7 separate regions of the Homo sapiens genome follow, and regions 1, 2, 3, 4, 5 and 7 are each linked to region 6. Evidence: promoter capture Hi-C in 16 types of primary human blood cells and fetal thymus (Javierre and others, 2016). All regions are on one chromosome and are shown on one strand. Each heading gives the region's core, a stretch centred on a gene start or on the middle of the fragment in contact. The rest is flanking DNA. Distances are from core to core; before and after follow the strand shown. Region 1 has its middle 34 kb from the start of LINC03114. Region 2 has its middle 56 kb from the start of LINC03114. Region 3 has its middle 7.0 kb from the start of WWC3. Region 4 overlaps WWC3 (WWC family member 3). Region 5 has its middle 3.3 kb from the start of LINC03114. Region 6 holds the start of TBL1X (transducin beta like 1 X-linked). Region 7 has its middle 18 kb from the start of CLDN34.

Evidence for each region. Contacts are between HindIII fragments. The CHiCAGO score rates a contact against its expected background, and 5 or more counts as called.
Region 1: a fragment that was not itself captured here is called in contact with the fragment with the promoter of TBL1X in region 6 in 4 of 17 cell types (non-activated CD4 T cells, naive CD4 T cells, total CD4 T cells and 1 more); the score reaches 6.2 in non-activated CD4 T cells.
Region 2: a fragment that was not itself captured here is called in contact with the fragment with the promoter of TBL1X in region 6 in 4 of 17 cell types (M1 macrophages, non-activated CD4 T cells, M0 macrophages and 1 more); the score reaches 7.5 in M1 macrophages.
Region 3: a fragment that was not itself captured here is called in contact with the fragment with the promoter of TBL1X in region 6 in 2 of 17 cell types (activated CD4 T cells and non-activated CD4 T cells); the score reaches 8.4 in activated CD4 T cells.
Region 4: a fragment that was not itself captured here is called in contact with the fragment with the promoter of TBL1X in region 6 in 1 of 17 cell types (activated CD4 T cells); the score reaches 5.1 in activated CD4 T cells.
Region 5: a fragment that was not itself captured here is called in contact with the fragment with the promoter of TBL1X in region 6 in 4 of 17 cell types (activated CD4 T cells, non-activated CD4 T cells, naive B cells and 1 more); the score reaches 9.1 in activated CD4 T cells.
Region 7: a fragment that was not itself captured here is called in contact with the fragment with the promoter of TBL1X in region 6 in 1 of 17 cell types (monocytes); the score reaches 5.7 in monocytes.

The regions. Positions count from the first base shown.
Region 1 is chrX:8,891,949-8,895,347 of GRCh38, reverse strand. No RefSeq gene overlaps it. Among named protein-coding and RNA genes, the nearest start is that of LINC03114, 34 kb to the left of the region's middle. The HindIII fragment of the contact is 1,516 bases long and covers 1,299-2,814 here.
Region 2 is chrX:8,870,063-8,873,229 of GRCh38, reverse strand. No RefSeq gene overlaps it. Among named protein-coding and RNA genes, the nearest start is that of LINC03114, 56 kb to the left of the region's middle. The HindIII fragment of the contact is 3,918 bases long and covers 1-3,167 here.
Region 3 is chrX:10,006,526-10,010,048 of GRCh38, reverse strand. No RefSeq gene overlaps it. Among named protein-coding and RNA genes, the nearest start is that of WWC3, 7.0 kb to the left of the region's middle. The HindIII fragment of the contact is 6,322 bases long and covers 1-3,523 here.
Region 4 is chrX:10,023,162-10,026,680 of GRCh38, reverse strand. The region is part of intron 2 of WWC3 (WWC family member 3); the gene reads right to left. Among named protein-coding and RNA genes, the nearest start is that of WWC3, 9.7 kb to the right of the region's middle. The HindIII fragment of the contact is 2,935 bases long and covers 154-3,088 here.
Region 5 is chrX:8,928,698-8,932,260 of GRCh38, reverse strand. No RefSeq gene overlaps it. Among named protein-coding and RNA genes, the nearest start is that of LINC03114, 3.3 kb to the right of the region's middle. The HindIII fragment of the contact is 2,292 bases long and covers 479-2,770 here.
Region 6 is chrX:9,462,942-9,466,392 of GRCh38, reverse strand. It overlaps TBL1X (transducin beta like 1 X-linked), which reads right to left and starts at 1,335. Exons shown (of 18, transcript NM_005647.4): 1 at 946-1,335. RefSeq lists silencers at 360-509, 810-949, 1,070-1,649 and enhancers at 1,880-2,079, 1,907-2,735, 3,110-3,404. The HindIII fragment of the contact is 11,363 bases long and covers 1-3,451 here.
Region 7 is chrX:9,983,970-9,987,240 of GRCh38, reverse strand. No RefSeq gene overlaps it. Among named protein-coding and RNA genes, the nearest start is that of CLDN34, 18 kb to the right of the region's middle. The HindIII fragment of the contact is 4,245 bases long and covers 1-3,271 here.

The DNA.
Region 1 (3,399 bases), core at 807-3,306, 570 kb after region 6:
CTTCTCTGGACGTCTGAGTCTTTGTTGAAATTTCCCCTTTTTATAAGGATATTAATCATATTGGATTATTCCCCACCTAATGACCTCATCTTAACTGGACTTGCTGCAAAGACCCCATTTCCAAATAAGTTCATAATCATGATACTGGGCATTAGGACTTCAACATCTTTTGGGGGGACACAATTCAATCTATAACATTTTACGGGGATGCTTCACTTCAGCTCTGAAAAAAATTCAATCTTGCAGGAATGGTTATAAAAGCAAGAGAAAATTTATGGTCAATTATGATTCTGGTGCTAAATCAGCTTCAACATTCATCTTAGCAATTAAAATTACAATTCTAAAGAAGCTGATATTTTTATATTGAATATTTTCCATTTATGTGTTGAATGTTCTTTTGCAAGTAAAAATTATATCCAACTTTCAGAAAAATGTGCATATTTTAGAGTTAGTCCCTTTCTGGATTGTCTCTGTATGGAAAACACCTTAAAACATTTTACGGATTTTTTTGAGGGGAAATAAAGTCAGTTGTTTGCCTCCTGGAGTGGATAATAAATGGTTAAAAATCTGCTAAGAGCCATCAAAGCACCTTCCCTTTATATTTTGATCCTCAAATCAGATCTTGTTGGCTGTCAAGTGATCTGAAATGCTGAATGGAATATTTGAAACTGGGACTGTCCCTGTATGTCAAGAGCGAGTGTCATCTTAATCTTAAGTCTTCAAACTCCTTCCTCAACCACATCTTCCAAATGCAGGCAGTTTTGTAAAACAGGTATTTTACTCATATCTGCAATATCTAGTGATATCAAATTCATACCACCATCATCAATTAACGTCACTGAGATACATATGGCACAGGAAAACATGTTGTCAATGAGCATATTGGGAATTTTCATCAGTTATTATTACAACCCAGTCCAAGAAGAAAATTGGACAGACATGTCACTGTCATTTTAATCGGACCTGTATTATTGACCATTTCATATCTGTAACAAGATGAGTAAAGTCTGTGTAATGGAGTTGAATTAAATTTTCTTTGGAGTCATGTTTGAGGAAATATCTAAGTTCCTGGAAGAAGCTCAGATTAGAATATGTTCTTTCAAAATCTTTGGAAATTCTTAACATATAACTGGGTCCACCAATGTCCAAGAGAGTAGGATGTGCAGTAAGTGTTATGTGTAGATTTAACAGATGTCAGAGCAAAACTTCAAGCATAATTGTAATTCTTCACTGTGTCAGGGCAATAGACACACATGTCCTGGAAGCCTCACACAGCCTGATACTTTTTACTTCAAGCTTTAAACCAAGTACAGCTGTATCAGCTAGTCATTACCACGATATTGCCACATAACAAAATGTCCAAAAGTTTATTTTAATAAATCAACAAACCCTTTTTTTCTTCTCTATCAGGCATCTGTGTATTGGTTGACTCAAGGTCACCTGGGCATGGCTGATTGGGTTTGGCCTGGCTGGAGCTGTAGGTTGGAATCAGGTCTACTTTATGTGCCTCTCATCTTCCTTAGTACAGCAAGCTATCTAGAATGGGTTCTTCTCATGGTAATGACAAAACCATAGGAGAGATGAGTGGAAACATGTGTTGTCTTTTCAGGCCTGGACTTGACTAGCAAACCATAACCTCTGCCTTTGCTTCTCTGACCAAAGCAAGTAACTTTGCTGTGTGGGCAGAATAATGGTCCCCCAGTGATAGATCTGTTTCAATTCCCAGCAGCTGTTAATTAATATGTTACCTTACATGGCAAAAGGGACTTTGCAGATGTGATTAGGTTAAGGACTTGAGATGGGAGATTATTCTGGATTACCTAAATGGGCAGGAGGATCAGAGTGAGAAGGAGATATAATCGTGGAAGCAGAGGTCAGAGTAATGCCAGTGTTGGGGCTGGGGCATGAACCAAGTAATGAGGGCAGCCACTAAAATCTGAACAGCAAGGAACTGATTCTTCCCTAGACACTCCAGGAGGAACAAAACATCCTGACTTTAGCCCTGAAAGAACCATTCGTGGACTTCTAACCTCCAGAACTATAAAATAATAAGTTAGTGTTATTTAAAATCACTAAGTTGTGATAGTTTGTTACAGCAGCAATGAGGAAACTAATACAGTTGCCAAGCCCAGCATCAATGCAGCAGGGAAATTGACTCACTGGTAATGGGAAAAGTCACATGAAAAAGGATGGGGCTGCTAGGGGGGTTGAAAGATCAAGAACAAAATGTAATCAACATGGCAGTTATTGAATTGTATTCCTCAGTTAACGCATTGTAGATCAATGTGGGAGGGTCAGAGTTTTAAAGAAATGTAGGGAGAATCTGGCTGTCTTGTTCTTTGGAGAAGACTGGTGGATAGAAAAGGATTCCAACTCAGTGTCCCATTATGGACCAGTCTGTAGGTCTCAACATGCAATTGTACCTAGAGATTCAGCTGCCCCGCAGAGAGAACTACCACCTTCTTGAGCATGTACTCATCGACTCCAAATCCTAGTGAGCTTTCAGCCTGACAGGATGGTGTTCCAGAATGTGGCTAACCACCCAACATTGCAAAAGTGATTATCATCCTAACCCCACAACTTTTAGATTTGGGTGGACATGAAGATAAAATACCATCTGGGTTCTCAGGGGCAACTGTTCAGAAGAAATGTGAAAGATGGCAAAAAAAAAATTTGAGGTCCACTGACAACTTATCTCCTTAGGCAAGCTGACTTACATAAAGCAAAATGAATGCAATTTCTTTGTTTAGCAAAGGGTTACAGATCACACCATGAGTCTATGAATAGACACTATTTGTGGGTGGTTGTTAAGCTTCTTAATCAGGAAAGAGGTATGTTTTATTTTGAGAAAACTCTCTTTTCCTTCAGACTGTAAGGTCCTTGGAGAGGAGCTGTGACTCAGTTTTTGTTGTACCCCTGGTAATTGACAAATTTGTGAAATATAAAATTTGATTGGTGGAAGAAGTTGTGAATTGGAATTACTGAAGGTTGGTCCCAGATACTGATTTTTACAAGTCTCAGAATATTAGTTTCTTAATGCTGCTGTAATAAATTTTCATAAACTTTGTGTCTTAGAACAACTCAGTATATTATCTCAGAGTTCTAGAGGTCAGGGCACAAAATGGGCCATGGTAGAGTTGAGGGGCTGCATTCCTTCTGGATGCTCCAGAGGAGAATCTGTGTTTTTGCCTTTTCCAGATTTGAAACACCACCTGCATTCCTTGGCTTGTGGCCCCTTCCTCCATATTTAAAGCTTGCAGTGTGACATTGTCAAACTTCTCTTTCTCTCTCTCTGACCCCTGTTTCCATCTTTCTATCTCCTTCTCTGACTCTGACTTTCCTGCCTCTCTCTTATAGGGACCCCTGTGATGACACTGGGCTCACCTAGATAGCCCAGAG
Region 2 (3,167 bases), core at 483-2,982, 590 kb after region 6:
TAACAGGGACTATACTGTAAAAATATTCCATTTTTTCCTCTTTGGTTCTCTTTTTCATTTTTGAGCAGTCTTTCCTGTAGCTCTCTCAGGGGCATCCTCTGTTTGGGTAGGGATGATGGTGTGAGTGAAGGTTCATTCTCTTATAGAAGAAAGGAAAGGGGTGGTATCAGGGTAATGTTAGGTTTTAGGGGTTCGCAACTAGAAAGTAGCCTTGTGACCCAGACAATAAAAACTCTGAATTCCTTATTTACATATTTAGTATTTCAAGAACTGTGCTTGATGAGCCAGCTCATAGAGCTTTATGCCAGGAAGAAATATCTAAGGAAGAGGGAAAGGAGGAGGGGGCTCATGGTATTTTAGACAGGGGCAAAATAAGGGAGATTGAGAAAAACATCTGTCTTGGCCTCCTGCTGCTGCTATAACGAATTCTCTCACTTGGTGGCTTAAAACAAGACAAACTTATTATCTGACCGTTCTGGAGGTCAGATGTCTGGAATGGGTCTCACTGGGCTACAATCAAGGGCTATGTTCTTTCTAGACATTTAGAGGACAATCCATTCCCTTGTCTTTTCTAATTTCTAGGGGCTGCCTGCATGCCTTACTTCTTGGCTCCCTTGTTCCATTTTCAAGGCCAGTAGCATGGCGTCTTCCCATTTCTCTGTCTCTCTCTGGCCTCTGCTTTCATCCTCACATCTTCATCTCTCATTCTCGCCCTTCTGCCTCTCTTCACAAAGACCCTTGTGATGACATTGGGCTCACCCGGACAACCCAGGGTCATCTTCCCATTATAAGAGCCTTTGCTTAATCACATCTGCAAAGCCCCTTTGTTGTGTAAGGTAACATAGTCTTAGGTTTTGGGGATTAGGATATGAATATCTTGGCAGGGAGGCATTATTCAGCTTACCCAGCACCCCTGCTGCATTCAGCTGCAAGAGGTCTGGTGCAGACGTGACTGTAGAGCACAAAGTGCCTGGGCCCTCGGTCATATGTAATCCTTGAGTTAGAGTAGCATGTCCTCAGATATGCTGCTTATTTTACAGAGAAAGGACTATGCCTATCTGATAGTTTCCTGCTTTATTAAGCATGGCATAGCTGTAGTATAGCAGTCTCTGCATGTTTGTAATGCACTCCTCTCCATTGCTTCTTAATTTTTCAGTTTGTGAAGAAAGCACACCTAGAGCACAGTGTCACTCAAAACTATAATGATAATACAAAACTATGCAGCCATCATTAATCCACATTAGTTCTTCACCAATGTTTCTTAAAACACCAGCTATTGACAAAAGATATTTCTTTCTAAGTGACAGGGAAGACCAGACTGCTAAGTTACCTTTTGTTATGGAGGTGTGATGCTTGGTAAGGGATCTCATTCCAAATGCACCTGCCTGACGCCACTGGACAGCTCAGCCCACTCTGCAACTCTTGGATCTCCCACTGGTGTGTGGGAATGGAAGAGTTAAACTGTGATGCTGCAGACTGGTGGGCAGATGACTTTTAACTCATCTCCTCTAACCATATGAACATTGAAAAGTGGGAGACTGGGAACAGCTCTAGAGGAAATTGCTTTTGAGTATCTTGGGAGCGTCTTTCAGAAAACGCTAACCTCAAAGATATCTTTTCCAGCCTAGAGCCAATGGATTATATAAACTCCCTTCCACCACGGTGCCAACACAGCATTTTCAGAAGTAATTATGTAGCTGAGTTCACAGGCCAAAATAGAATATTTTAAAATATGTTTTTCAGAATTGTCAGACTTTCTTCAGTTCCTGAATCTGCTGTAATTAGGATGGAGGTGTTTGGTGTTGTGCTGGTGAAACTTGTGTATGTGAGGTAGAACTATGAGACTCTGTAAGCAGAATGAGCAACTAGGTCTTTCAAGGAGCGTAGCAGCCCCAGTGACAAAAGTCATTTAGAGCCAGATGGAATATGAGCAAATCAGAGAACCCAACAGAATCAGTAAAGGAGGTTAGGCCAAGCTGGTCATGGTTGTATTTCCATAGCCTGCCAGATGTGCCTCCACCCTTCTCCATCCTCTCTGTACCCTCAGGAAGTGACTCCAGTGGACTACATCTGTGGGCCTTGGCTAGCTGACTTCCTGTTGGCTTCTAGGAGGAGATTGGCAGGAGGCAGGAGACTGCCTTTGGGACACAGGTGCTGCATGGATCTGGTAACCACTTCTATCCATGGCCACTTCACCTCTGGACATAGGAACTGTTTACCAGAGATCCTAGCCCCAGGGAACTTCAACATCCCTCTCCAGTATCTTTGCACATAGTCAGTGCATTAGATTCTCCTTGGCATTGATTTCTTCTGGTGGGACTTTTCTACATTATTTTATTTTCTTCTCTTATCTGCTTTATAAAATCTGCAGAAACTACTCTATAGTGTGAATTCTATTCTTTTCAACTTACTATTTTTTTTAACAAACTCTTCAGATGAAAGATGACAGCTGTGTTACTGAAGCAGAGTGATCCTCCAGGTACTCATAATCAGTAGTCAGGTAAATGACTCCCAAGGATAATGGTCCTGGAGCAGGACCTAATTCCTGAGTGAGAACCGCCTGACTGCTACTCTAGATACAGTAAGGAGCGGGGGTGAAATGTCGCATTTCCTGTGGCAGAGAGAGTTGCTTTCAAAACTTTTCTGGCTTCCTTGCCTGTGCAAAGTTGAGCAATTATAAGAACAGAATTGCTTGTCTATAAAATGGAGACAAAAATTCATTCCTCATAGGGCAGTTGTGAAGATTAAAGAAGATTAGAGATGTCATGATTTTCTTCCTCTTCTCTTTCTCCCCCTCCCTTCTCCCCTCTTCTCTTCCTTTCCTGCTCCTCCTCCACATCCTCCTCCACCTCTTCTTCTTCCTCCTCTCCTCCTTATTCTCCTTTTCCTCCTCCTCATCCTCTCCTGATACTCTAATAAAGCAGTTTGCTGATTTGCTCTTCATTTGAGAAAAATAATATAACCTTATTTTGAATCTGTTTTTAGATCCACATCAAAACAATACCTTTGGAATCAGTGTAATTGCTTGCATTATATACTATAGAGTTGTTATCTTAGATCAATGCATCTCATTATTCCTTTGCTTTTTTTTTCCAGAAAACTTAACCCTCTTATCTAATACAGGAACATCTACCTTGCCAGGATGGCACCATATTTATCTTATCAGA
Region 3 (3,523 bases), core at 847-3,346, 540 kb before region 6:
AGCACACTACAAGATACTTCCTCCTGGCTGGCTTCTCTCTTATTTAGGATTAGAGCTCTGGTCCCCTGTGTATTTGGAAAAACAGATCCTTAAAACTACAGACCTCTGCTTTATGAGCCAGGCAGAGCAGCTCAGAAGTCTCAGGCTTGCAGAGACAAGAAGGAAAATTTATCTCACTCAGAAATGAGCAATCTTTGTTTTTCATTTGGTGACACTAGCATTAAAATTAGCCTCTCTTGTAACATGAATGGAACCATTTCTGGACACAGGTAACCAAGATGATTGTTATATAATCAGTGACTCAACTGGGGGGGCGGGTGATGGTGTCCCCCAGGGGACATTTGGCAATGCCTGGAGACATGTTTGCTTGGCACAACTGGGAGACTGGGGTTCCTGGCATTTAGTGGGTAAGGCCAGAGATGCTGGCACACATCCTGCAGTGCCCACAACAGCCCAGCACCAGAGAATGATCTGCCCCAAATGACACCAGTGCTGAGGTCAAAAAAACCCTATGAGATATGTATAATGTATTGTTATTATTTTTTTGAGACAGGGCCTCACTCTGTTATCCAGGCTGGAGTGCAGTGCTGCGATCACGGCTCTCTGCAGCCTCCAACTCCCAGGCTCAAGTGATTCTCCCACCTCAGTCTCCTGAGTAGCTGGGACTACGGGCATGCACCACCACACCCGGTTTATATATATATTTGTAGAAAAGGAGTCTCACTATGTTGCCCAGGCTTGTCTCAAACTCCTGGGCTCAAATGTGTAATTTATGAGAACATTTATACTGCCCAAACTTTATAGTGGGAAAACAAGGCTCAGAGAATGTAAGTAACTAGCCTGGTATGACCTGGCCAGTGCTAAAATGCATCAGCCCTAAGACTAAAGCCCAGCTATCCCATCTGACCTCCTGTATTCATCAGGGATGTATAGACAAATAGCTCCAATATATATATATCCAAACTCTCTCTCTCTCTCTCTCTCTCTCTCTCACACACACACACACACACACAGAGAGAGAGAGAGAGAGAGAGAGAGAAAGAGGCAGACAGAGAGAGATATTTATCATAAAGAATTGGCTCATGGAATTATGGAGGCTGACAAATCCCAGGATCTGCAGTTGGCAAGCTGGAGAGCTGATGATGGCACAGTTCCAGTCCAAGTCTGACAACCTGAAAACCAGGAGAGCTGATGGTGTCAGTTCCAGTCTGAAAGTGAGCAGGCTTGAGATCCAAGAGGAGCCAATGTTTCAGTTTGAGTCCAGAGGCAGGAAAAGCCCAACATTCCAGCTCAAGCAGTCACACAGCAAGAGCACCCTCCTACCCAGCCTTTGTGGTCCAGCCAGGCCTTCAACTGATTGGGCAAGGCCCACCGACACTGAGAAGGCAGTCTACAATTCAAATGTGGATGTCATCCAGAAACACCCTTACACACACACAACCAGAGTAATGTTTGACCAAATATCTGGGCACCCCGTGGCCCAGTGGCCCAGTCAAGTTGACACATGAAATTAACCATCACACCTCCTGACTTTATAACTAGTTGTTCTTTGTTTCTATGACTCTTTCTTTCTTTCTCTCTCTTTTTTTTTTCAGGTAGTGTCTCACTTTGTCACCTAGGCTGGAGTGCAGTGACGCAAACATGGCTCACTGCAGCCTCAATCTCCCGGGCTCAAGCAATCCTCCCCGCTCAGCTTCCAGAGTAGCTGAGACCACAGGCACAAGCCACCATGCTCGGCTAATATTCTAACTTTTTGTAGAAATGGGGTCTCACTATGTTGCCCAGGCTGGTCTCAAACTCCTGGACTCAAGAGATCTGCCCACCTTGGCCTCCCAATGTGCTGGGATTCCAGGCGTGAGCCACTGCACCTGGCCTGTTTCTAGGACTCTTTCTGCTCACAGTGTGGCTCGTGGACCAGCAGCGGCAGCATCACGGGGGAACTCATTGAAATGTCCACCCCAGGGCTGTTAGTTTAAGAAGCATCATATTACACCCCATGGAAGAGGATGGTGTGGGGGTGTAGGCATCTACAAAAACTTACTTTACAATATCGATTCACAGAGCCATCTGGGTAGTATTTGCCTTACTTCACCTCATAATCAAGAGGGGTTTATTTATCATTTAAGAGGTGCCAAGCCCTATGGCAATCCCTGAGCAAAGTGTAATCACAAGCCACTTTCACACTTGCTCTGCATGATAAGCACATTGAAGAGCCTGGATCTGTTTGTGACTCAGCTTTAGGCTTGCACAGTAATATACAGTTCAACTTCCCTGGCCCAGAAGTAGAAATGGAGAAGAAGCCAGCTGCAGGCCAACCACACTGTAACAGAGCTTGATTTTTGCCTTAGCTTACTATGCGTCTCCCCTGCCTGATGTCCCAACCCAGGGTCAGCTACATAGTTTGTGCTCTACGTTTTGCAGTGCAAAATGAAAACGCAGGACCCCTTGTTCCAAAAAAAAAAAAATCTCAAGAATTTCCAGATGGTAACAGTGGACCACTACAATAAGCACAAGCCCTTTGGAGCACAGTACCCTGTACAATTGCACAGGCAGCAGCCTTTGAAGCCGGCTCTGTCCATACCTTTCACTTCTAGTCAGGTGACCTTTGAAAATTCCAAAGAAACAACAATTTTCAGTGACAGCAGAGGAGATTGTTTTTGAGAATGGGACTCTGTCCCTGCAAATCAAACTACTTGCTGCCCAAGCCTTCTCTGCCAGCCCAGGTACTTCCCCGAGGTCAGCATGACCCCGTTGGCAGGAAGAACCTCCACTGCTCTTGACTCTCTTGGGTCCCTGGTGCTGGGGGTTGAATTGTGCTCCCCCACCCAAAAAAAGGATACGCTGAGGGCCTAGCCCTGGGTACATGTGGATGTGGCTTTATTTGGAAATGGGGTATTTGTAGATGCAGTTACTTAAGATGAGGTCATACTGGAGTAGGGTGGGCCTTTAATCTAATATGACTGGTGTCATATCATAAGGGAGGGCAGAAGGAACGCAGACACCAGGGTCATGTAAAAATGGAGGCAGAGATTGGAGTAATGAGGCCACAAGGCAACGAATGCCAAGGATTTCTGGCAAGCACCAGAAGCTGGGAGAGAGGCATGGAACAGATTCTACCCTGGAGCCTTCGGAGAGAGAGTGGCCCTGCCTCACACCTGCATTCCAGGCTTCTGGCCTCCAGAACTGTGAGAGAATCCATTTGTGTAGGTTTAAGCCATCAGTTTGTGGTCCTTTGTTACAGTGGCGCTAGGAAACTAACATGCCTGGAACCTTGCCCCCAGGCTCCTGCTGCTGCTTCAGTAGGGAACAGAGTCTATAGAACTCTGTTCACAGGGTCCCAATCAGTGCTGGGAAATCACAGGAAACAGAAGCCTGCCATGAAAGCCCCCAGAGATCCCACCAAACCCAGGAGCCCCAGGCATGACATGCTGGACCTCTCAAGTACATGCCGTAAACTGTAGCAGCCATATCCAGTGTAGACCAGAGGCAAACCACAAATGCCCACATTGGCCATGAGTTGCCC
Region 4 (3,519 bases), core at 372-2,871, 560 kb before region 6:
GGGGCGGCAAGGAACAGAAAACACACGAGTGAGAATGCCTTAGCTGGCTGCAAATAACAGAAATTCTAATTCGACTGGCTCTAAAGGATAAGATGATGCTGTTACCACGTTTAGCGTAAGAAAAGGTACTGAAGGCAGACAGCTACCAAAGCTTAATTCATCCATCCACCCACCTCATCAAAGACAGACTTTCCACTCCACCACCCTCAGCTTCTCAGCCAGCTCCCTCCTAGTTTTGGGGGCATCAGTGTGGCTGCCCACCTCCAGGTTTCCATGGAGACAGAGCATCAATTAGCAGAAGTTCCTTCCACGTAGGTCTATGGGGACAAGGAGCCTTCTCCCCAACCATGCCTGTCTCATACCTCCCCTCACAGCTCATTGACCAGGTCTGAGTCATGTGCTCCTGCCTCAGCCAATTGCAGGCCCGGATGCTGTATGATTGGCTTAGAGCAATCTCAGGCACTATTGATATTAGGGGCTGGATCATTCATTGCTGTGGTGGGGTCGATCCTGTGCATTGTAGGATGTTCAGCACCATCCTTGACCTCTACCCACTGGATGCCAGCAGAACCTACCCCCAGGTGTTAACAATCAAAAATCTCTCCAAATGTTTCCGAATGCTCTGGGTGTAGGGAGAAGGAAGAGGGAATCCTCAGTTGAGACCCACTGGCTTAGGGCAATCAGGACATCACCAGGAAGTACAGACAAGGTCGTAACTCCAGAGCCGAGAGAAGGTGTGGCCACCCCAATAAAATGGGTGCTCTGACAGCTTACAAGGAGGGACTGCTCTTGAGAACATCAGAATAGTGTACATGAGGAAAAGTCAGTGAAATACAGCAATACAGAATGATCATTATAAATCAATAAAACCTGTCTCTACATGCATAATTTCATTCAGCAAACATTTATTGAGGGCCTACTATATGCTAAGTACTATATAGACAAAACACAATAAAATCTAAATGAGATTATTTAAATTTATTTTTCAATTATAAATAACTAGATCTCTGCTTGGTTCCTTCATTCTCAATCTCTTTTTCACTTTTTATTTTGGAATAATTACAGATTCATAGGAAGTTGCAAAGAAATATACAGGGAGGTCCCTGTGAAATGTCCCGAATAGGCAAATCTATAGGGATGAAAAGCAGATTAGCGGTTGCCAGGGGCTGGGGGTATGGGGGCTGACTGCTAATGAACACAGCGTTTCTTTATGGAGTATTCAGAACTACATAGGGGTGACGGTTGCACAATCTAGTGAATATAACAAAACCCACTAAATTGTACACTTTTATTTATTTTTATTTATTTTTCATTTTTTTGAGATGGAGTTTCACTCTGTCGCCCAGGCTGGAGTGCAGTGGTGCGATCTCAGCTCACTGCAGCCTCCACCTCCCGGGTTCAAGTGATTCTCCTGCCTCAGCCTTCCGAATAGCTGGGGTTACAGGTGCCCACCACCATGCCCAGCTAATTTTTCTTGTTTTTTTAGTAGGGACAGGGTTTCACCACGTTGGCCAGGCTGGTTGCAAACTCCTGACCTCAAGTGATCCGCCCGCCTCAGCCTCCCAAAGTGCTAGGATTACAGGCATGAGCCACCGTGCCCAAGGTAAATTTTATAGTATCTCAATTTTTTAAAAATGGAAATAATGTTTAAGGTAAATCTAGTTGACCCCATACTCCAAGGCCTCCCCCATGCTGGGGACAGGCACCCGTCCACAGGACAGAGCTCTAAGTGGCAGAAAGAACAAGTCTCCTGCAGTGACTATGTGGTCTCCTGGCCGAGCTCCGGGCCGCCTGGAAACACCATACCCAAGCTGGTAGATGCCCTCTTTCCTGGAGCACGGAGCCTCGGGCAGAGGAGCTACTTGGGGCACCTCCGCCTGCCTCAAAGATCCACCCACTGCCACTGTGGGGCTGGTGATCCCAGGCTTGGTGCAGCCATCTCCCCCGTTCATTCTCAACATCAACATCCCTCCCTCCTCCCCATGCTCTCTCTCAGTCCCTTCAGTTTTAAAGAAATGAAAAGAGAACCCTCCAGATGAAAAATGCTGGAGATCCCACAGCTCCATAAGCGGCCTTTCGAGATGTCCTTGCTCTGTATTTGTAGAATTTCTGAGCAAAGGCAGAAGCACTCCACTCCTCTCACCCCTCCTTCCTCCGAACCAAAGGGAGAACCGAATGGCTCGGGGCACTGAATGGCTCGGAGCATCTTAGGCAGCCTGATCTCTCCCTCCACACACAAACGCGCACACACATACACACACACACATTCAAAAGGCCAGGCCAGCTCTCCAGGTTGCTGCAGAACACCAGTGTGAACAGATGCATTTTCTTCTGTTTCACTGCATATATGTATACTCTTGACAGTCAGTAAATGCCTATCAATTGAGAGTATTCTAAGAATTGAAGAATACACTCATAGTAATATATGTTCCCAGTTTCATATACTGGTTCAGGGTTTTTCACATAAATATGTTTGAAATTTGTTCATGGAAACACAGAAATCAGGTCTCTGTTGCATAGTATCTCAGGAACTGACAACAGGCTTGAAACAAATTCAGCAGCTAAAGATGAAGCATTGTAACCAGGTGGATGGAGGTAGCTCAGACAGTTCTCAGCCAAGGGATACTGCCCGCCCCGGGGGCCATTTGGTAATGTCTGGAGACATTTTCGAGACATCTGAGGGTGGGGAGTTTGCTACTAATATCTCAATCTAGTGGTAACAGACCAGGGACGCTACTAAACGTCATATGCTACATATGACAGCCCTAACAACAAGGAATTACCCCACCGCCAGGGTTACTTTAGACCAGAGTTGAGAAACCCTGGTCTAAAGTAACACGTTCAGGATTGCTTGAGCCCAGGAGCTGGAGGCTGTAGTGAGCTATAATCATGCCACTGCACTACACAGCCTGGGCAACGGAGCAAGACCCTGTCTCCAAAAATAAAATAAAACAAAAATAACACTTTCTTGGTTTGGACACCTTTTAGGACACTGCCCATCAGCAATACAGTAACTTGAACAGCTTAACATGTTTCTCTATGTAACGGAGTTACTGAACACACAAAACCACCACCACCAATGAAAGCTTCTGAGTGGGGTTAATAGAAGGATTTTCGGTTGGCCCCAGTGAGTCCCGGCTCCTCCTTAGGTGCCAGTAAGATTCCTCAGCAGCCCTCCTGATTTCACCTGCCTTCATTCAAGCATTAGCTAAGTCCTCTACACCATGTTTCCTTCACAATGTCTCTGACACAATCCCTGCCTTTTCTAGCCCGAGTGCCCCTGATCGCTCTAGCTCAGGCCTGTGATCACCTGAGAAAACCTCCACTAGTTTCCAACTGGCCTCTTCTCTCAGAAAGCCTACCTCTCCCCACCCCCACATTTAGCTAGCTCATCAAATATGTTTTTGGTACAGCACATCTGATGCGAGTCCCAATGTGAGTGACTCTCCATGCTTGCACAAGAAACGAGGACCCTCTGGGGGTATTGTGAGAAGCCAGGGAGAGAAAAAAGATGTAAAA
Region 5 (3,563 bases), core at 375-2,874, 530 kb after region 6:
TGCAGCAAACCACCATGGCACGTGTATACCTATGTGACAAACCTGCATGTTTTGCACATGTATCCCAGAACTTAAAGTATAAGAATTAAAAAAAAAATTTTCAACACCCCCACCAAAAATATATGTATATATACAGCATTAAGAACTGCCATTACTTAGAACTAGTTATCATTTGGACAGAAAACAGAAAAACTTCTAAATAGTATGTCCATTTTCTAAAGATAATAATTCAAAAGACTTCCTTGTAGGGCTCAACAGCCCAAATAGTTTAAAAATTACATTGTAATTAAAAACCATATGAATCAGAACTAAAAAAAAGTGAATTTAGAATCACAAAGAAGATTCATTCTCTGCTCTTAAATGGAATTGGAGAAATGGAATTTCAATACAAAAAACAAATACATAGCAAAAGAGAAGTTTATAAATATCATTAGAAGGCCATGTAAAGAATCCTGGGATTCAGGGTATCAGAAAAGCTTGCATGGAGGTCGTGGCTTTAGAGATGGAATTATGGGAGGAGTAAACTCTCAACATGTAGAAATTGTTATGTTCTAGGCCACAGAACAGCACATAGACCTCTGCACAAAGACAAAGACTCGAAGTGCAAATTTGATAGTAGAGATAACAAACATTTAGGGGAGACATTAAAGAGGATGGGAGGAACCAGAGGTAGGGAGACCCCAACTTTACATGATATCATGGACAGAGCCTTGAGCAGGAGAGAAAGCATTCATACATGACTGTGTCCTACAACTTTCCCAGCCTCCTAACTGTGGCCAGACCCAGAAACTCAACTGCAAACTGCTCCATTTCCTAACAAGGCAGTAATCTCATTATGTTAAGGGATTACACAAGGGTTGTATTGTCAACAGGGGCACAGGGAATAGCACATTGACTATGAATTAGTTAACATCAGTGGCATTGGAAGAGAAAAAAGCAATTGACCATGTTCAATACTCATTGCTGTAAAACCCACTCATTGGAAATTTTTAATGCAATCTCTGGCTGGCCTGGGACTTACCTTTCTCCTGCTGATGAGGATGTATATACTCAGCAAATTAATTGTGTTAGCACAGCTCAGCCTTCTCAAGCATCTTAAGCCAGGGTGGCAGAGCTAATATTTGCAGACAAACATTAAGTGGCTTCCAAAGGATTTTGTCTATTAATGAAAATAGGTGCCATTTGGTAATGGCATCTCAACCATTTTTGCTATTATTTTTGTTGAGAGTGACCAGATAGCCAAAAAAGGAAAACTGAACAGGTGAGGCTGTAAATTCCCTGGACTGATGGCATTCACATGTGCACAGAGGATGCTTACAGCATATCCTTCCGAGTAGATAATGACATGCTAGGTTTCAGGGAGAAGCCATAGATTTCAGTCATTTTTCTGAATGCTTCACAGACCCAAGGCTGTAGAAACCTTTGGGCTGCTGTTGCTTCCTCATGGGGTTGCTGCCGAGACCTGGCACCAGTGCACCTGATGCGCTTTTGCTGGTTAACGCAGGTGACCTTTCCTCAGTGTCTCTGCAGGAAGACGGATCACTGTCTGGGCTCAGGGAAGAGGTTCCAATCCACAGTTTTAGGTCTCCAACTTATAGCCTTTTACCTCATCCCCACTTGCCCAATCATTGTCCCCAAGGTGGCTGCTCAGGGGAACCCCTGTGCTTGGCCACTGGCTTTGTCAAATCCAGCTCTTCCCTATCACTCTTTACGTCCTATAATGAGTACAGAACACCAGCCTGGATGAACCGTCCCCTCAAAGGGGCTCTTGGTGTTGTCATCTGCCAACAAGCCATCCTCATTTGATGGGAGGTTCCAAATGCGTTTCACTTAGAAAAGGACTTTTTGTGGTTACCTTTCTGATATTTGGGGCTATTAATAATTTCTGTGTAAATTGGCCAATGGCTCTGATACCAGGGGTAAGTGGAAGGGCTGGTGTTTGTCAAAGGCCTGAGTGGGGGAAGAGAGAAGTTCTGTATCTCCTTCTCCAGGGCCCTGGGTTCAGTTTGCTAAGTTAGAAGGGGTGACTCGGCCAGGCGCGGTGGCTAACGTCTGTAGTCCCAGCACTTTGGGAGGCCAAGGCAGGCAGGCAGATCTCGAGGTCAAGAGATGGAGACCATCCTGGCCAACATAGTGAAACCCTGTCTCTACTAAAAATACAAAAATTGGCAGGGTGCGGTGGCTCACGTCTGTAATCCCAGCAGTTTTGGAGGCCGAGGCGGGTGGATCATGAGGTCAGGAGTTCGAGACTAACCTGGCCAACATGGTGAAACACCGTCTCCACCAAAGATACAAAAAATTAGCTGGGTGTGGTGGTGCTCACCTGTAATCTCAGCTACTCGGGAGGCTGAGGCAGGAGAATCGCTTGAACTTGGGAGGCAGAGGTTGCAGTGAGCTGAGATTGCACCATTGCACTCCAGCCTGGGCAACAAGGCGAGACTCTGTCTCAAAAAAAAAAAAAAAAAAAAAAGAAAGGAAAGAAAAGAAAATTAGCTGAGCGTGGTGGCATGCTCCTGTAGTCCCAGCTGCTCAGGAGACTGAGTCAGGAGAATCACTTGAACCTGGGAGGCGGAGATTGCAGTGCGCCCAGATCGCACCACTGCACTCTGGCCTTGTGACAGAGTGAGACTCCTTCTAAAAAACAGAAACAAAACAAAACAAAAAAACAGAAGGGGTGACTCAAGTTGGACATGGTAGAACACAGGTTTGCAATTTCTGTGTAGGAGAAATTACAATTAGAGAAAGTGTTACTTAACATGGCATTAAAGCTTTTTAGCATTTTCTTATCAGCCAATCCCCTAATCTCCCTTCTCTGTTGATGTTACCATTGTTTCAGTTAGCCTTTTCTCTTTTACATTAAAAACATGTAATAAGATATTTGACCTGGTTCCATATTTTTGCAATTGCAAAGTGTGCTGCTATAAACATCCATGTGCAAGTATCTTTTTCTTTCTTCTTTTTTTTTTTGAGATGGAGTCTCGCTCTGTTGCCGCAAGTATCTTTTTCATATAATGACTTCTTTTCCTCTGGGTAGATAACTAGTAGTGGGATTGCTGGGCCCAAATGCCCATCAATCAACAAGTGGATAAAGAAAATGTGGTGTACATATATACCATGGAATACTACTCAGCCATAAAAAGGAATGAAATAATGACATTTGCAGCAACCTGGATGGAATGAGAGGCTATTACTCTAAGTGAAGTAACCCAGAAATGGAAAACCAAACATTGCACGTTTTCTCTCATAAGTGGGAGCTATGAGAACGCAAAGGCATAAGAGTGACACATTGGACTTTGGGGACTCGGGGTAAATGGTGGGGTGGTGGCAAGGGATTAAAGGCTACACATCGGGTACAGTGTACACTAGTGAGTGATGGGTGCACCCAAATCTCAGAAATCACCACTAAAGAACTTCTTCATGTAACCAAACATCACCTGCTCCCTAAAAACCTATTGAAATTAAAAATAAAATAAAATAAAGATATTTGAAAGCAACTTCTTTTACCTCTACTGCTTAGGGCTTAGAACATTTATACTCACTTTAACACAAATTCATAGTCTTGT
Region 6 (3,451 bases), core at 86-2,585:
CCCGGTCTGACGGAACACAGGCGACGCACGTGAAGTCCAGGCCCTATCCCAGCGCAGGCGGGCCTCCAGCGACCCACAGTTGTCACATATCCGGCCAGCGCCGACTCCCGAAGGCGCACTCCCCATACTCCACTCCGAGCACCGGTCCCATCGTTAGGGAAGGTCCCCCTGGATAGCAAGGCCGGGGCCCAGGATCTGCGAGACCCACCCCACCCGCCCCGTCAGAGCCCAGGAGCAGCAACAGGTCTGCGCTCTCCCCGGGCGGCGCTCTGCAGACCCTCGACGGGCCAAGGGTGCCCCCAGCCCAGCCGTGCGCTCAGGCCGGGGAGATGGGCGGAGGACTGGGGCTCCCGACTTCCTTGACAGTTTCTGCGCGTCAGAAACTGAGCAGACACGGGGCCCGCGCCACCTCGCCCGCCGCTTGCCCCACTCCGCGAGGCTGCGCTTCCACCCGGGTCCGGGAGGGCCGGCCCGCGTCCCGGGTATGAATGGGGCTCTTCTCCCCAACAGCGGGGAAATCCCGCCACCGCCCTCCACCCCGGTCCCCGGAGCCCGCGGTGGCGCAGGTTTGCCCAGCAAGCCCCTGAATCGGCAGACAAAGGGGCACCGGAGGAAAAGCCGAGCGCTTCCCTAAACTTACCGGCCACTTCCCCCTCCCCAAAACAAAGGAGCCCCCCGCCGACCTCCGTCTCTCCCCGCAAGGCGCGCCGGCACTTCGGGGAGCGGCCACCTCGGGGTATTGTTCAGGCTCCTGGGAGCGCGCCGCACCCCAGTCCGAGCGCCGCGGGGACAGTTGGCGACCTGCACCTACAGGAGTTCCAGGGGCGGGTGGAGCGTTCGGGCGCCCCGAGCCGCCGGCCGGACCCTGGAGGGTCAGCGCGGGACCCGCCTCCCCGCAGAAGTTTGCGGACCCCGCGCCCGGCCCGCCGAGCCCTGCGCACTCACCTCGTCGCGAGCAGCGCAACTTGTGGCGGCGCCGCGCGCCCGGCCGCGCTCCGAACCTCCCTCCAGCCGGCAGCCTCCGAGTCCCGGCCGTGCGGCGGCCGAAGAGGGCCCGGCGCCCCGGAGCAGCCGCGCGCCGCCCCCGGGCCGCCCCCGCCCCGCCGCCGCCGAGTCCCGGAGAGAGCGCGGGCGCTGGAAAGTTTCGGTGGCGAATGGCGGCCTGAGGGCGCTGCGGCGGCGGCGGGGCGGGGGCGCTGGCGGCTCCTCGCTCCCAAGCGCGGAGTGGGGGCGCTGAGGCGGGCGCGGCGGCGGCGGCGGCGGCAGCGGGAGAGGGCGGGACAGCGGGAGGGACTGGCACGGACAGTGACCTCCACGGGGAGCTGCCGCGAGCGCGCGGACCCCAGCCAGGAGGACCGCCAGGGGTCCGCCCCCGCCGCCGGCCCCTCCCTCACGGCCGTGGGAGGGGACCCGGCGTACCACCCGGCCCCGCCCCTGCGCCCCGGGGGAGCCGCGTCCCGAACCAGCCCCTCCCCTACGAGGGTAGGGACTCCGGCCCTGCCCCTCCCCCGCGGCTCCTAGTGGGGACCCGCGTCCCAACCCAGCCCCTGTCCCACGGTCGGGGGACCAGCGTCCCTACCAAGCCCGCCCCGCTCCCCCACGCCTAGGGTGGGTGAGGGGAACCCGGGCCTCTCCCTAGTTGCTCTGGTCCCGGTCCCTTCCCCGTGGCCTCCGTGGGACTGAGAGGACCCCAGGGCTACCCCCATCACATCCCAAACCCAGCCTTTCCACGACTGCCTCGAGGGGACGGGAACCTCGGCCACCCCCTCAGTTTCTAGGGGGCAGGGGAACCTCGATCACTGCTAAAGTGTTACCCTCCCCCACCCCAAAAAGGAAGCCACCCGGCTGCCCCAACAGAACCCCCTGCCACCTGCCCGATGGTGAATCTCCCTCAAAATCGGCGTCTTAGAAGACACCCCAGTAGTCTTTACCCCAGCTCAAAAAGTGGGGGTTCCGGCGGAGCCTCGACCTTTGCAAAACACCTCCCAAGAAGAGCCAGAAATGCTTAGGGACAAACTCAGACACACAGGCATAGGCGCCAGGAACTCGGGTGTGGGGGCTGAGGAGGTTGGGGGGACCTGGGCACTCGGGCCTCATCACTCCCACCCCAACCCCCCAGGCATCAGCCCTCTGGCCCTTGCAAAGTGCTTTATGTTGCAATGGCTTACACGGCCTGGCCCCGGTGTACCTAAGTCCCCAGCGCTCCTTCCTCCCCTCCACGTAGGCTACTCCCAACCACTCGCAGCCTTAATTCAGTTAAACAGATCTCCACTCCCCCTCCCCAGCACCTCTGGGGTCAGCCTCGTTGAATATTTTTCAAATATTCTTGCCCCTTCCTTTACTATATAATGAGCTTCGTGCTAAGAGCCCGGTACACTCAGCAATCTAAACTATAACCTCACTTGCTCTTCCTCGAACTCTAGACCATTTGTTGTTCTGGTTGTAGGGGGAGGGGGACCTAAGGTGAGGTTTTTGTTTTTTTGTTTTTGTTTTTGTTTTTCTGAGGAGTCTCGCTCTGTCGCCCAAGCTGGAGTGCAGTGGCGCGCTGTCGGCTCATTGCAACCTCCACCACCCTGGTTCAAGCAATTCCCCTGCCTCAGCCTCCCGAGTAGCTGGGATTACAGGCGCATGCCACCACGCCCAGCTAATTTTTTTTGTATTTTTAGTAGAGACGGGGTTTCACCATATTGGCCAGACTGGTCTGAACTCCTGACCTCAGGCAATCCGCCGGCCTCGGCCTCCCAAAGTGCTGGGATTACAGGCGTGAGCCACCGTGCCCGGCCGGAGGTGAGTTTTTAAGAGGCCGGTCCTCCACCAAAACGGCGGACCTCAAAATTACCCTGCAAAATATTGCTGTAAAACGTCAATGATGCAAAACGACTGTTGCTACACCATCATTAGAGGACATCAATAAAAAAATACACACTTACACAGTCTCCATAATTGTGAATCAGCAGAATAGATTGTGTCTTATTATGTATCAGTTGCCATTCAAGGCCCCCCAGAAGGACATGGTGGGGCCTTCCCTTGAGCCTGCCCTTCGTTGCTCCTGGGCTCCCTGGGCTTGTGCAGACTGATGCTGAGGTATTACATGCAATAGAAAAACGAAGGGTGCAATAGAAAACCCGAACGAGCTCATGATGCAACCCTGCCCTGGCTACACGTGCTTCCCTTCCCCCACCGCCTGCTGGTGGGAGTGCTGCGTTTTTTCCGCCTGTAGGGTCACATTGTGGTTGATTGATTCTCCTTTCGCCTTGCTCAGTCATTCAGATTTGGAAAGTAAATAACAAGTTGACATCATTACAGCTCTGGGCTTTACGCGGACGCAGCCCTCGGCTACCGCACACTCTGGAGTAGCTGCGCAGCCAACCAGCCTCCTAGCTTGCCAGACCTGCTTGTGGTTAGCAGTTGGAAATTCCAAGCTAAACTTGGTTAAAAGGCCTCTTTGTGT
Region 7 (3,271 bases), core at 677-3,176, 520 kb before region 6:
AGCTGAACAAAGATTCACACACCCTTCTAGGATAATTATACCTCTTTTCTCTGTCTCCTGACTTACAGCACCCTGGCTAGAACTTCCAGAACAATCTAGCTGGGCGTGGTGGTGTACGCCTGTAATCCCAGCTATTCAGGAGGCTGAGGCAGGAGAATCGCTTGAACCTGGGAGGCAGAGGCTGCAGTGAGCCAAGATCACGCCATTGCATTCTAGCCTGGGCAACAGACTGAGACTCCGTCTCAAAAAAAAAAAAAAAAAAAAAAAAAAAAGGAACTTCCAGAGCAATCTTACGTAACTTTGGTAATGACAAGTTTTCAAGTCTGGTTCCCTATTTTCAGGGAATTCTTCTAATGTAGTGATTCACAAGTGTGGGAAGACCAGGGTCAGTGAAGGGGGTGCTTTGCTGGGGGGAGGGTGGATTTGAACAAGGCCCCACAGGCGATCCTGAAATGGCCCCCACCACTCCAAGGTTAGAAAAAACTGTACTAATCCTTCATCGTTAAAGATATATTTAAGTGTTCGTTTAAGATAGACAGCATTGAATGAAGTGTCTTTTGTTTTTTTAGTTTACAAAGGGTGCTTATCGGAAATTAATGTGGAACTCTCTCGCTCTTTCTCTCTTTATATATATATATATATATACCAGTTTTACTGAGGTATAATCCACATACTGTACAACTCGCCTGTGTAAAGCATACAATGCAGTGGTTTTTAGTACATTCACAAGGTTGTGCGACCATTGTCACCATCAATTTCAGAACATTTTTGTCCCTCCTAAAACGACCCCTGTGCCCATGAGCAGTCACTCCCCATTCCCCTCTTCCCAGCCCCTGCCCACCATTCATCTACTTTCTGTTTCTATGAATTTCTCTACTCTGGACATTTCATATAAATGGAATTGTACAATTTGTGGCCTTTTGTGTCTGACTTTTTTCACTCGACATCATGTTTTCAAGGTTCATCCACATCGTGTTTGCAAGGTAGTGGTAGGAAAACAAAAGCTGTTTCCCGATTTCTTCCCACCAAGTTCAGCTGTTTCAATGATCCTATGACGAAGATTGTGCCACAAGGAATAGCCTTGTGGATGTGACAGTTACCATCCACGGGCCCACTGTGTCCTAGTGGAACTCCATTCAGAGCCTGGGTTTGATGACCTTATGGGATTTCTTCTGGACCTTTCAGTGAGGACTCTATCACTACACGGTCCGTCGCATCTGGCTTACTCACAGCTACCCAAACCCCACCTCGGCTGTAGTAGCCAGGAAGTTGAAGGCCTGAAGTGCATTTACCAGCCAAGGTTTCAGCATCTCGTCACACACTGCCTCAGTAGCTTACGAACAACATGAGAGGCCTCCGTGAGCACGGGAAGTTGCCCAACGGAGAAGTGCAGGTGTCCCCTCCGGTCACCGCATTTGCTTGTCCTCTGTTTCCCAGTAACCCCCACATCCCGGCACTGCTGCCCCTCCATCTCTCTTCCTCTCTCCCCACGGCTCTGCCATGCCCCTGATTTGGGCCATCACCACCTCTCCTTGGAATTGCTGTCCCACCTGTCACCAGCCTCTGCCTCCAGCTTGGCAAGGCTGCCTGACAAGAATGACCGCCAAGGCCTCTGGTGCCTGATCCAATCTTGCCCACCTCTTGAGGCCAGATTCCTTCCAGGTTAATGGGGGCAGAAAGAGAACTGTGAGCTCCCGTCTGTGGGGATCTCACTCATGCACAGGTTGAGAGCCAGAGTGGCATTCATGAGCAGAAACTTCTTTTCCTGGTGTAGGTCTGTGAACAATCCCTCAGGGCACTTTCATCAACATGTCATCGTCACCAGAATCCATAGTTGACATTAGGGTTCATCCTTGGTGTTGTACATTCTATGGATTTGGACAAACGTACAATGATATGTGTTCATCATTATGGTAGCATACAGATAGTTTCACTGCCCTAAAAATCCTCTGCAATCCCCTCTTCATCTTTCCTTCTTCTCTAGCCCCTGGAAACCACCGATTGTTTTACTGTCTCCATAGTTTTGCCGTTTCCAGAGGGTCACACTGTTGAACTCTTACCGTCCGTAGCCTTTCAGATGGGCTTCTTTCACTGGGAAATATGCATTTAGGGTTCCTCCATGTCTTGTCATGGCTTGATAGCTCATTTCTTTTTGTGCTGAAAAATATCCAATTGTCTTAATGTATCACATTGTTTATCCACTCATCTACCAAAGGACATCTTTGTTACTTCCAAGTTTTGGCAATTATGAGTAAAGCTGCTATAATCATCTGTGCGCAGGTTTTTCTGTGGACGTGAATTCTCAGCTCATTTGGATAAAAACCAAGGAACACAATTGTGGGATCATAAGGGTCTGTCTCTTCTAATTCAAAATGATCCCAATCTCTGGTTTTAATGGAAGGTGTGGGTAATTAATTAGATGTTTTCTCTGAAGGTAGGTTTAGGAATGATGGAACCAGATACAGATACCAAACCCTGGAAGAGACAATACTAAAGAGAATTTAAAATAATTAAAAGTGAAGAAATACTCTTTTTAAAAACTTGATCAGGCCAGGCGCAGTGGCTCATGCCTGTAATCCCAGCACTTTGGGAGGCCGAGGCAGGCGGATCACCTGAGGTCAGAAGTTCAAGACCAGCCTGGCCAACATGGCTGAACCCAATCTCTATTAAAAATACAAAAAATAGCCGGGTGTGGTGGTGTGTGCCTGTAATCCAAGCTATTCGGGAGGCTGAGGCAGGGAGAGTTGCTTGAACCCAGGAGGCAGAGATTGCAGTGAGCCGAGATGGCACCACTGCAATCCAGCCTGGGTGACAGAGCGAGACTCTGTCTCAAAGAAAAAAAGAAAAGGAAAAAAAAAAACAAACCGTGATAGATGACTCTAATGTCTAATAACTCCGTATCCCAAACTGTTTACCTTTTGGAAATAAAATTGCTAAAATGCATGCCTTTTATAACCAGCAAGAATTCTCCCAAGCCTGCATACCTGTCTCAATCTGCTGGTTCTCCCACCTGGCTCTGTATTGGCAGCAGGTTTTCTATTGGGCCTATTTTGATGGTAGGTATTCATCTGCGTTAGTTAAGGGTGAACAATAGCAGCCCAGTTACCAAGTAACCCGATTTAATAAGCAGCTGCATTCTGGTTGGTTGACAAAGGACTGAACTAATGGTTGCAGACCAGCTGGCACGAACTGCGGCGAATCCGTCAAGATGTCAATCTAACGAGCCAGTCCTGTTGTGACCGAGAGACAGTTTCCCCAGAATAACTTGGGC